Linked DNA regions of Homo sapiens: all the other regions are linked to region 1. Evidence: promoter capture Hi-C in human tissues and cell types (Jung and others, 2019). All regions are on one chromosome and are shown on one strand. Each heading gives the region's core, a stretch centred on a gene start or on the middle of the fragment in contact. The rest is flanking DNA. Distances are from core to core; before and after follow the strand shown.

Region 1 (3,922 bases), core at 521-3,020:
TGTGTATGTGTGTGTGTGCGTGCATGTGTAGGCTGTCTTCTGCCTGGATGTGAACACAGCACCTAGGTGACCATTTCTCTAAGTCCATGGCATGGAAGGTGAGCCCACTGGCTTTATTGGAGAGCCGTTGGCCTGGAAGGGGCATGTGGTGGAGGTGTCTGGGGCTCGGGCTGTGGAGGGTCAGTCTTAGTGGGCTTTTACCCCTTCTACTTCCTAGAAGTTTGCTCCTTTTGGGTGTCTGCAGTTGTGGGCATCAGGAAAAAGAGAATGGATGGCTGCAGGGTTAGCTGGGACCAAGGGCTGCCCCCTAAAGCTCCCTGGGCTCCTGCTAATCATCTCAAATGACATAATGGGACAGTCACCCTCTTTGGCTTCGTATCACTCCCTCCCGATGGAAGAAGTTCTCTTTGCACCCAAAGAAGTGGCTAGCCCTGCTCATTCTGCTCTTTCTTCCTCATGGCCCAGGAGGAGAGCTGCTGGGTACCACCCTAGGTGGAGCAAGGACCCCCCACTCTGCCCCAGCTTTCCTGGGACACGATGGCCCTGGCTCCAGTGGCTGAGAGTTAACATTCCCTGGCACCAGCCACTGGCTCCCTTCCCCTGGATGCTCTGTTCCCGATTAGCACAGCAGGCAGGGGCCTGGCGCTCGTCCCTGACCTCGGGGCCTCCAGCAACCAGACCCCTGGCTTTAGCGGATGAGCTACCAATTCTTTTTAAAGCACTGACTGATGCGTGGTATTAAGCAGGGACAAGTTTGCGGCCTCACTGCCCTTTCCCAAAGGACCAGGGTGCCTCTTCCCGGAACACTGTGTGTGCCTGCGTGGAGGGGAAACTGCCCCCGCTTCCCTCTCTTGGGGTGCAAAAATCTGGGCCAGAGGTCCCACTGCGTGGCCTTCCCTATTCCCCTCTGCTTTCCTCCCAAGCCTCCATCTGCCGAGGAGGCCTCTCCCCTTCTTCAGGAGGGAAAGAGGAATGCACAGCAGTTGAGCCAAGACCCCTCCAGGAGCTGCGATGGGGGCGGATGGTGGCTGGGAGCAGAGACACATCCTGCGGGCGGCGGGTGGCACAGGCTGGGACGTGTTCTTAGCCAGTGGCTCCACCAGCTTCCGCGAGGCCGAATCCTGCCCTTGCCAGTCATGAGCTGAGGCAACTCCTTTCCCGTCTGGGCCTCGGTTTCCTGTCAGGCACTGGATGAAATCCCTTCCAGCTCTAAGATTTGGGATCCGAGGGCTCGCTCTCTTTCCCTGCCTGTGGGGTTGGCCAAGCCGGGCTCAGCCAGCTCCGCTCTAAGTTCGTGGAACTTGCCAGCTTAGCCTGGCTCCCGCTTATCGCTGCTCCATCACAGGAAAGACTCCAGTTCCCAGGGCAGCCCCCACTCTTTTTTTTTTTTTTGCAACTTTCACATCACAGACAGCTCAGCTCTCAGAAGACCCAGGGCCACACAGAACAGTGGGATGGGGCAGGGGTTTCTGGAATCCCCTCCCATTTTCACTTGGGTGCTGCCTCAGCACAAATTTCCCAGGCTCCTTTCACAACACACAACACACATACACACAAACACACACACGTGCACACACACACACACATGCACCCACAGATATCACTCCCCAGTGGCTGACTCTTAGGAGGCATCCCTCCCCCACCCTGATTTCTGGGGGTGACTCACAGAAGCAGTGTGCCCACTTAGGAGTCTCTGGGGAGAAGATTCCTGAGGCCGAGAGGGTCCTTGTTCTCTTCTTGCCCTCGGCTCAGCGGGCACCGGGAGAAGAATGCGATCCCGGAGACTGCACCGTCTTAAATATAGCAGCACTGAGACAGTACAATGACAATGGATGAGAACTATGGCATCGGGGACAGGGGGCCAAGGGGAGGGGCCATTCCGTGTCTCCAGCCTGCTGGGCAGCAGCGACAGGTGGAGCTGTCCGCCGCGTCCCCCCACACTGCTCCTCCTCTCAGCTGGGTCCTTTCTGCCCAACCCAAGCCCCTGTTAAAATGGAAAGGAGGGAACGGCTCAGGCATGGTCGTATGGAGGGCAGATCCCGTGCGGCGTTCTCAGCTGTCGGGAGTTCTGATCTGAATTCTGCCCCGGCTGACTGGGTGCCCTGGGGAAGGCGCTCAGCTTCCCTGAACTGACTGCCTTCTGAAAAACGGAGACAGTGAGACTGGGCACCTGGACTTCATGAAGACGGTGGAAGGAATATGACCTAAAAGTGAGTGTTTCGTGCTCAGAAGTTGTCACTGGCTAAAACAGCAATGTGTGGCTCCTGGTCCCTCCACCACTCCGGTAGTTACTACACGGCCCCCGCCCTGACCACAGTCATGTGTGTGTGGTGTGGTGCAGGCAGGAGGAGCTGGGGAGCCACCTACTGCTTCACTGTGCAAACTGCTCAGGCTGCCAGAGTGTCCCCTGAAGGGCCTTCTTATAGGGTAAACGCACCTGACAGGGATAACTGAAGCACGCTCCAAGAATGACCCTGTGTGGAAGACCTGAATATGTGTTCCGAGCTAAGGAATCTGGGGAGTAGCCAACCCGTTTCTTACCTACGATGAATATCTGAGCCCCCGTCCCGTCCCTTCTGGTGGAACGCTGGCCATACAGGGGATTGAGGCCCTGAGTTTTGGGTTAAATGAAGATTGCCAGGTGGAGGTCATTAGGGGATGGTGTAAAGTGAAAATGCTCTATAAACTGCATGCTGTTTGCAAGGGGCTGAGGTTTTCCTGCCCAGTCGGCCGCCACTGGTATGTTGTCCAGCCCGCCGCCCCTGGACCATTTCTGTATGTAAGGCGGTTCTCCTGTCCAGTTCATCACCAGTGGACTCTCTCTCCTGTAGGCAAGCCCCTAACAAACCCCCACGTTCCTTCCTTTCCTTCCTTCCCTTCCTTCTCTCCCTTTCTTTTTCTTTCTTTCTTTCTTTCTTTCTTTCTTTCTTTCTTTCTTTCTTTCTTTCTTTCTTTCTTTCTTTCTTTCTTTCTTCTTTCTCTTTCCTTCCTTCCTTCCTTCTTTCCTTCTTTCCCTCCCCCCCTCCTTCCTTCCTTCCTTCCTTCTCTCTCTCTTTCTTTCTTTCTTTCTTTCCTTCTTTCCTTCTTTCTTTCCTTCTTGAGTCAGAGTCTCACTTTGTTGTCCAGGCTGGAGTGCAGTGGCATGATCTCAGCTCACTGCAACCTCCGCCTCCTGAAACCCCCATGTTCCGTTTGCTGGCTATGGATCTTTTCTTTGGCCTCTCAAACCTGGTGCCTTCCCTACTGAGGTTAATAGGTGTTCGGCACCACACCTCTTCCCACCCTTTGCCCTCTCCTGCCATTCCCTCAGTCTCAATTCTTTCCCCCTCACATTCATTGGCACCTACCCTATGCCAGACCCTAACCTACAGGGGAAGTCAGGCACTTACGACAGGAGGTGATCAGGAAGGTGCACCTGGGTCGAGTCTCAGAGGATGAGCCGGTGAGGGGAAGGCTGTACCGGCCCCTAGCCAGAGAGCACAGCTTCCCTCCCTCACCCCTTCCTGCGACCTCAGGTGGCCACCCACACTACACCTGTCACTCTTGCTGGTGCCTCAGGGACTCCTCACTCGAGAGAAGGAGAGAGAGAGCACAAGTGAACTTTGCAGGCAAAATCTGAATCCCCTGCCCTATTTGAAAACCCCTTTCTAAGCTCTTCTGTGGCTCTCTCTTACAGCATCTTTTGGGAGAGAACATTTCTCTCCCATCTTCTATTGACCCAATCGAACAAGGGCTTTCCAAGACTCATCTTCATACATTTGCTGTGAGGGATGAGTGTGAGTGAATCCGTACGAACAGCAAAGAGGGCTTTGAGCTTCCAACTGAGCAGGAGACAGTCATTTAAACAGGTCCTCTAGCCCCGTCCTCCCAAGGCAATCTGGGGAGATGAATGAAGGTGCACTGGAGAGACAGGGTGCATCCT
Region 2 (3,922 bases), core at 803-3,302, 160 kb before region 1:
GTGGTGCAATCTCGGCTCACTGCAACCTCCACCTCCTGGGTCCAAGCAGTTCTCCTGCCTCAGCCTCCCGAGTAGCTGGGATTACAGGTGCACGCCACCAGGCCTGGCTAATTTTTGTATTTTTAGTAGAGACCGGGTTTCACCATGTTGGCCAAGCTGGTCTTGAACTCCTGATCTCAAGTGATCCACCTACCTCGGCCTCCCAAAGTTCTGGGATTACAGGCATGAGCTACCACGCCTGCCCTGTTTTTTGTTTTTGTTTTTTTTAAAAAGCAGGGTCTCACTCTGTTGCTCAGGCTGGAGAGCAGTGGCACAATCTTAGCTCACTGAAACCTTTGCCTCCTGGTTTCAAGTGATTTTTTTTTCCTGCCTCAGCCTCCAGAGTGGCTGGAATTACAGGTGCGCACCACCACGCCCGGCTAATTTTTGTATTTTTAGTAGAGACGGGGTTTCACCATGTTGGCCAGGGTGGTCTCGAACTCCTGACCTCAAGTCATCCACCTGCCTTGGCCTCCTAGATTTCTGGGATTACAGGTGTGAGCCACCATGTCTGGCCTTAACTATAGTTAAGGGTTGTAATCAGGGAGGAAGAAGGGCAGAAGACGGTAAGAAAGTTCCTACTTGACTAGAACTCTTGTGACATTTCCCTGGCCTGACAGATAGCTAAAGCTGCCTCTTTCTCTCATGGCACTTGTTCTTCAGCAAATTCTCTTCATGAGCTCTCTCGGCTGCAATTCCTTCACAGTGGGCAATGCTTCTCCTTAGGCTGATTGCTCCCTCAGCTTCTGCCTCTTAGTACAATATCTTGCTGTAAGACTGCCATTGCAGGGGCCACACTTGTGGGCTTTGAAAATAACTCTAGCCAGGCAGGTGGCTCACACCTGAAATCCCAGCACTTTGGGAGGCTGAGGCAGGCAGATCACTTGAGCCCAGGAGGCAGAGGTTGCAGTGAGCCGAGATCGCACCATTGCACTCCAGCCTGGGTAATAGGAGTGAAACCCTGTCTCACAAACAAACAAACAAACAATCAATCAAAGAAACAAAACACATGAGGATCTATAAATACTCTAGTTTTTTTTTCTTATTTTTTTCTAATCGGCAATGAGAATATACGTGCAATTTTACTGGCCAATGATAGCATGGAACCAGAAGGGTGGCTACCTCCCATTTAGAGCATACTGTATTCCGAGCGCTTCCTAGCAATATGGACCCTGAAGACTAGATCGGTGTAGCAGAGTGGCTAAGAGCAGGTTTTGGCATCAGGCTGACCCAGGTTCAAGTTCGAGGTATGTGACTTTGGGCAAATGACTTAGCCTACCTCTTTGAATCTCAGTTTACTCATCCATTTAATGAGGCAGTACTACTAGTGACCTCAGTAGGTTGTGATGAGAATTAAATAAGAATGCGTATCAATTGTTTAGGACAGGCCGATTCAATGGCTCATGCCTGTAATCCCAGCACTTTGAGGGGCTGAGGCAGGTGGATCACTAGAGCCTAGGAGTTCAAGACCAGCCTGGGCAACATGACGAAACCCTGTCTCTACAGAAAATACAAAAATTAGCCGGGCACGGTGGCATACACCTGTTGTCCCAGCTACTCGGGAGGCTGAGGCAGGAGGATTGCTTGAGCCCAGGAGGTTAATGCTGCAGTGAGCCGTGATCTCACCACTGCACTCCAACCTGGGTGACAGAGTGAGATCCTATTTAAAAAAAAAAAATTTTTTTTTTAAATTGCTTAGGACAGTGTACCTTGCTCATAGTAGAGTGCTCGATACTTATTGTTATTATTTAATGTGCAACACATTTGTAATATGCAAAGTATCATACCTTTGAATTGCATAAGTAACAGTTAAAACAAAACAAAATAAAGATATAACAGTCAAAGGCAAGGAGATGGTATAAATATTCAATCACGGTGAACTGGAATCAAGAGATCAGACTGAACTTGAGCAAGTTACTTCACCTCCTTTTGCCTTGGAAACTGTGGGCGAATGGCGACTCCTTTGTTGCCTGCTCTACCCAAGAGTGGAAGTCATGCCACGGTGTCACCTAGCAGTTTAATCATGTGTTAAGACTATGTCAATCTGTTCTTTTTTTTTTCTGCTGTGGCAAAATCCAGGCTCTCGGGCCATGGAAGCTTGACTCATAGTCTCTTTCCAAACCCAAGCCATCAGCCAGAGAACAAACACTGGCTTGCCTGACTCAGTGGAAATTCCAGACGTTTGTAGCTCATTAACTGCCAAATTGACAGCTATGGAGGCTGTGACGAATAAGTGGACCTCATTAGCTCCATGTTCCCCAGAAAAAGCTGTCCCACAGGCATACTTTGTACAAAGGCCATACGTAACACGTGATCTTTAAAAAAACCTTTTAAAATTCTTTTGACTATTTCCTGTCAAAAGAAATTCACCGCCAGGCGAGGTGGCTCATGCCTATAATCCCAACACTTTAGGAGGCCGAGGTGGGTGGGTCACCTGAGGTCAGGAGATCAAGACCAGCCCGACTAACATGGTGAAATCCTGTCTCTACTAAATACAAAAAATATGCTGGGCGTCATGGCACATGCCTGTAATCCCAGCTACTTGGGAGGCTGAGGCAGGAGAATCGCTTGAACCCAGGAGGTAGAGGTTGCAGTGAGCCGAGATTGTGCCATTGCACTCCAGCCTGGGCAACAAGAGTGAAACTCCGTCTCAAAAAAACAAAGAAATTCACCAACGTAAATTCACCAACTCCTCTTACAGATCCAATGTCAGGAAAGCAGCTATAAACAATAAGGACAGCGAACAGTATCCTCAAAGCCAGAAGCCTGGGACTGACTTTTAGCCTGATGGTGGGGGCATACACGGATACATAATTTCTGGAAAGTATTTGGTAATATGTATCAAAAGTCTTACCTGTATATTTACCTTGTGACCTAGTACTTTCACCCCTAAGAATTTATTTAAAGGAAATTTATTTACAGAAATGAAGATTTATTTATAGGGACATCCAACTCAGCATATAATAGCAAAAAATTGGAAATAACAGTGGAGAATAGTAAATTAATCAAAGATGGTCATAACATAAAATATGGCTAACAATGAATGTATATATACATGGAAACATGCTCACAATATCCTGAGTTTAAAAAGTGAAAAAAGGGGCGGGCGTGGTGGCTCACACCTGTAATCCCAGCACTTTGGGAGGCCAAGGTGGGTGGATCACATGAGGCCCAGGCGTTCAAGACCAGCCTGGCCAATATGGAGAAACGTCGTCTCTACTAAAAATACAAAAATTAGCTGGGCGTGGTGGCACATGCCTGTAATCCTAGCTACTCAGGAGGCTGAGGCAGGACAATCACTTGAACCTGAGAAGTGGAGGTTGCAGTGAGTTGAGATCATGCCACTGTACTCCAGTCTGGGCAACAGAGCTAGACTCTGCCTCAAAAAAAAAAAAAAAAAAAAAAAAAAAGTGAAAAAAGGTAACAATAGAATATATACCACTTTTCATCTTTGTAAAAAGGAAAAAAAAAGCTCAGTAACTAAGGGCTTTCTATGTGGCAGGCACTGTTCTAAGTACTGCAGAGATGTTGACTTACTTAATCATTACACAAATGTTAGGTATTGTTATTATCCCCAGTTCACAGATGGGGAAACTACAGCACGGAGAAGTTAAACAACCTGCCAAAGTCAGTCATATGCTAGAAAGCCACAGAGCTAAGGTGTGATGCTGAGCAGGTTTTGGTGTCTATGCCCCCACCACGACTCACACTGTCTCCTGGTATAGAAAAAAGACTGGAAGGACATACTTTCCAAGCGTTCACAATGCTTACTTCTGGGAAGTGAGATGTTGAGTGAATTCTACTTATTTTTTATCTGCCTTTTCTATAGTTAATGTGTTATTAATGAGACAAAACTCCAAAGAAAATGTTTAAAATACAAGAC
Region 3 (3,922 bases), core at 731-3,230, 130 kb before region 1:
TTTTGATCAAGTGATTCAAATTAACAAACAAGAATACCAAATTTTAATTGCTAAGCACAAGAACATATTAACTTTTAAAGGACTTACATTAAAGGTAGTAGCAACCAGAGTGCATTCAAATTTAAATCACATATATAATCATCGATATGAGTTTCAGAAGCATGAATGGGAATTTATATATTTTACCATTTTTGGATTAACTTTAATAACGAGAGCAATGTGTGAGTCAGAATTAATTTTCAAAAATTTGAAGACAGACATTTATTAGAGGACAAAAAGAACTACTTTTTAGATGTTACCACTTACATAAACTTGAATTTCAAACTTCAACACCCCTCACTAATCAGCCATCTGAAGAAAGGATATTGAACATAAGCAAATCCTCTTGGACGGCGAGTGTAGAAATCAAGTGGAACATACACATCAACTATAGGACCATAACGACCAAATTCACGCCGCAAGTCTTCAGACCTAAAACATCATAAAAAGACCTCAAATTTTTATGTCCAAGTCCTTAAGATGTATAGGCAATATATCTTTTTGATGAAGGAAAGCTAGGATCCAAGAATTTGGAAGATAAAAATGCAGTTTACATTAACAGGACAACAGCAGACATATGTATGGTACAAGGGAATGACCACAACTTATTTTTATCTACAGCCGTCATTTTTCATAAAAGGTACAGCAGCATTAGGTTGTATATAAGCCTTGTTTTTTTTTTTTTTTTTACTTTTACAGCATCAAATCGACTCTAGCACTCTGAAAAATACCAAGCACTTATTTTTACTCCCCAATTTTAGCGACAGATTTACACACTTAACAGTAGATAAATATGGTCTGAAAAAGTCACAAATATCGAACTTCTTAAATAGTTAAGTGTCAAGATGACGTAAAGAGAAAATTTCTCTAGATGCTAACGTAACTATTAGAAATTATGGAAAGAATTATTTATGGAAAGAATTATTGCTTTCTTTCCTTCTTAAATTTAAGACAAAAGCAAATCACAAAGCTAGCAAAAAACCCCCACGAAACACCAAAAACCCAAACCACTTATTTTCTGTGTGTAGATTCATTATTTGTGAAATAAAAAGCCTCATCTTGTAGTAAGAACTCTTCCAAAATAATCTGAAGGCAACTCGAAACAAGGGAATGGTGAGAACAAAGCCTATTTAAGGTACGTCTGAATTAATCTAACTTAGCTGTCAACGTCCTAATGACTGACGCTTCCCAAACCTCCCTTTTCAAAGGGTGACCAGAATTTCCAGGAAATAAGAAAAACTACTCGCAACATTTAACTGGAAAAATCTAACTCCCCAAATCTCAACGCTCCCTTTCTCCAAACACCTCCAACTGATTAAAACCCCCAAATATTAACAACGGCAACAACAACAAAGATAAATGGTAGCAACATTCCTCTCCCTCGATCCCGTTATTTCATCTCACTATTTTTTGGCTGGGGAAAAAAAAAAATCTCTGGGCCAAGGGGGCGTGAACCTCGAAGAATGTGAACTTCAAATCAATGGGGGGCGGCCGTCGGGTCGCGGAAAGGCCGCGGCGGGGGGCTGCTCGCGCCGGCAGGAAGCAGGGAGAAAGGGGCTGCAAACTGCGGAGGGGGAGGGGGACCGAAAAACCCCGCCACGCGGCCCGGCGAAGGCAGAGGCGCCGCCCTCGCTCCCACGCGGCGGCTGAGGCCCGCTGCGCGGCCTAGTTCGGCGCCAAAGCGGGCGCGGGACCCGCCATCTTCACTCCGTCCCCTCCCCCGGCCCAGTGCCGCCACCACCAGGGTCCTCTCCAGGCGCCTGCGGCCTCCCCGCCTAGGCCCGGAGTACCTGCCTTGTACCTACCTGGTGTCGTCGGCCACGTTCCTGACGAACAGAGACGTGTTGGGGGGACGCAGGTAGCGGGACATGGCGGCGGCGTGTCTCGGCCGGGCGCACTAACGGGCTCAGCAAACCGTCCGCGGCTCAGGCGGCCGAGCCTCAGACACACACAGCTAGAGGGCTCTGCTACGGCAACCGACTCTTCTCGCGAGACTTCACTCCCGCCTCCACTTCCCCCTCCTACCTCCGCGCAAAGTCGGGCGCAACGGTTCTTTCCCGCGAGAACACCAGGCGTCCGCCTGCGCATGCGGAGGGCTGGCGCACGCGCCTCAGCGTCGGTGTCATTCGTTGGCTTCTTGCGGTGCCTCTTACCCTCCCCCAAGCCTGTTCTTTCTTTCTTTAGGTCTTCATTTCCCGCCGTTTTCTACCTTACACTCCACTTCATCTCCACCCCCAAATCAGGAAGCAGATGTTTTAGTCTCTAGGCCAAACTTTGCGGTTACTACTAAATGGACAGATTTTTAAACTATTTAGTTCAGAGAGGCTGCCTTAAATTTCCCGGTTGGTCCAAGTTAATGTCCTGCTTTTATTTTGCCTTAAATTTCCCGTTTGGTCCAGGTTATGCCCTGACCTGCGAAAGAAGGATTTACAGCTTGTATTGAGTGTGTAAAGGAAGGAGGTGTGTGCCCTTGCGCAGAGCTGGGCCTGTCTCTCCAGTGTTTTCAGCCTGCCTTTGCCCCTCACCCACACCCTAGCCATCTCCACTTAGTCACGCATTTGGCTCCCAACCTGGGTGGGACCAAACCTCACACTGTAGGTTCATGACTGTGGTCATTTGTAGTGTATTCTTTGTTGCTGACGGCTTCCTGGGTATGCATCGGACCTGTATTGCAGCAGTTCTCAAACTTTTTGGTCTCAGAACGCCTTTATATTCTTGTGTATTACGGAAGATTCCAAAGAGCTTTTTTTAAAAAAAGTGTGGGTTATACCTATTAATAAATAGTTAATGAGAACTTAAAATAGAGGAAACTTCGGCTGGGCTCGGTGGCTCACGCCTGTAATCCCTCCCTGTACTTTGGGAGGCCGAGGCGGGCAGATCACGAGGTCAAGAGTTTGAGACCAGCCTGACCAACACAGTGAAACCCCATCTCTACTAAAAATACAAAAATTAGCCAGGCGTAGTGGCGCGCGCCTGTAATCCCAGCTACTTGGGAGGCTGGGGCAGAAGAATCGCTTGAACTCGGGAGGCAGAGGTTGCAGTGAGCCGAGATTGCACCACTGCATTCCAGCCTGGGCGACAGGGTGAGACTCCGTCTCAAAAAAGAAAAAAAAAAAAAATAGAGAAAACTTTGACACACTCCACTACCCTTTATCACACATCATGTACCCTCTGGAAAACTCCACGTTTGTAAGAGAATGAGCATGAAAATAGCAAATAATCTTTAGTATGGTTTTGATTTTGGAGGCCCTTTTGAGAGCCATTTCCTGCTCGATAAGAGTCAACTTCTGGAGATGAGAGACTTCAGTTGGAATGCCTCCAGCGTGTGGCACAGTGCCAAGCAGGTAGCAGGGACTCAAGTACTGTTAAATTAAATGAACTTTTATTTAATAAAAAGTCATAAAGGCATTATTTTTGTGTCAATCAGCATCTAAGACAATTAAGTGATTCGATACAGGTGATGATAGTTTGTAGCACTCTGTAGCAGAGCTATTCTAAATTTTTGTTTCCCAAGATTTGCATGCTTAATTTATTAAAATGTTGGGCCAGGCAAGGTGGCCCCAAAATCCCAGCATTTTGGGAGGGTGATGTGAAAAACAAAACAAAACAAAAAAAAGTTTGATTCCCTGTTATGTGTCAGACATTGTGCTAGAAGCTTGAAATTCAGTAATGAAAAACATACAGCTTATATTTCTAGGGCGATGGCAATGAGAAAATAAAGTAAATGCAGGTTTGTTATATGAAAGAAACAGTAATGTGATAGGTTTTTTCTTGTTTTTGATTTTTACTTATTTTTATTTTATTTTATTTTTTGAGATGTAGTCTTGCTCTGTTGACCAGGCGTGAATGCAGTGGCTGGATCTTGGCTTACTGCAGCCTCCGC

What was found. The method cuts DNA at HindIII sites, captures the fragments that hold promoters and counts their contacts. A contact is called where the count stands out against the background at its distance.
Region 2: a contact is called between a fragment that was not itself captured here and the fragment with the promoter of MYOM3 in region 1, in 1 of the 25 tissues and cell types used here (H1 embryonic stem cells).
Region 3: a contact is called between the fragment with the promoter of SRSF10 here and the fragment with the promoter of MYOM3 in region 1, in 1 of the 25 tissues and cell types used here (IMR-90 fibroblasts).

What each region holds. Positions count from the first base shown.
Region 1 is chr1:24,110,365-24,114,286 of GRCh38, forward strand. It overlaps MYOM3 (myomesin 3), which reads right to left and starts at 1,771. Exons shown (of 37, transcript NM_152372.4): 1 at 1,667-1,771. RefSeq lists an enhancer at 1,973-2,481. The HindIII fragment of the contact is 13,718 bases long and covers 1-3,922 here.
Region 2 is chr1:23,949,589-23,953,510 of GRCh38, forward strand. LOC124903877 (a long non-coding RNA gene) reads right to left here. Exons shown (of 4, transcript XR_007065541.1): 3 at 3,482-3,488. Among named protein-coding and RNA genes, the nearest start is that of PNRC2, 8.3 kb to the right of the region's middle. RefSeq lists a silencer at 1-74. The HindIII fragment of the contact is 5,689 bases long and covers 1-3,922 here.
Region 3 is chr1:23,978,347-23,982,268 of GRCh38, forward strand. SRSF10 (serine and arginine rich splicing factor 10) reads right to left here and starts at 1,981. Exons shown (of 6, transcript NM_054016.4): 1 at 1,845-1,981; 2 at 367-471. The coding sequence starts at 1,909. RefSeq lists enhancers at 1,208-2,198, 1,436-1,485, 1,916-2,245, 2,199-3,189, 2,256-2,305. The HindIII fragment of the contact is 19,449 bases long and covers 1-3,922 here.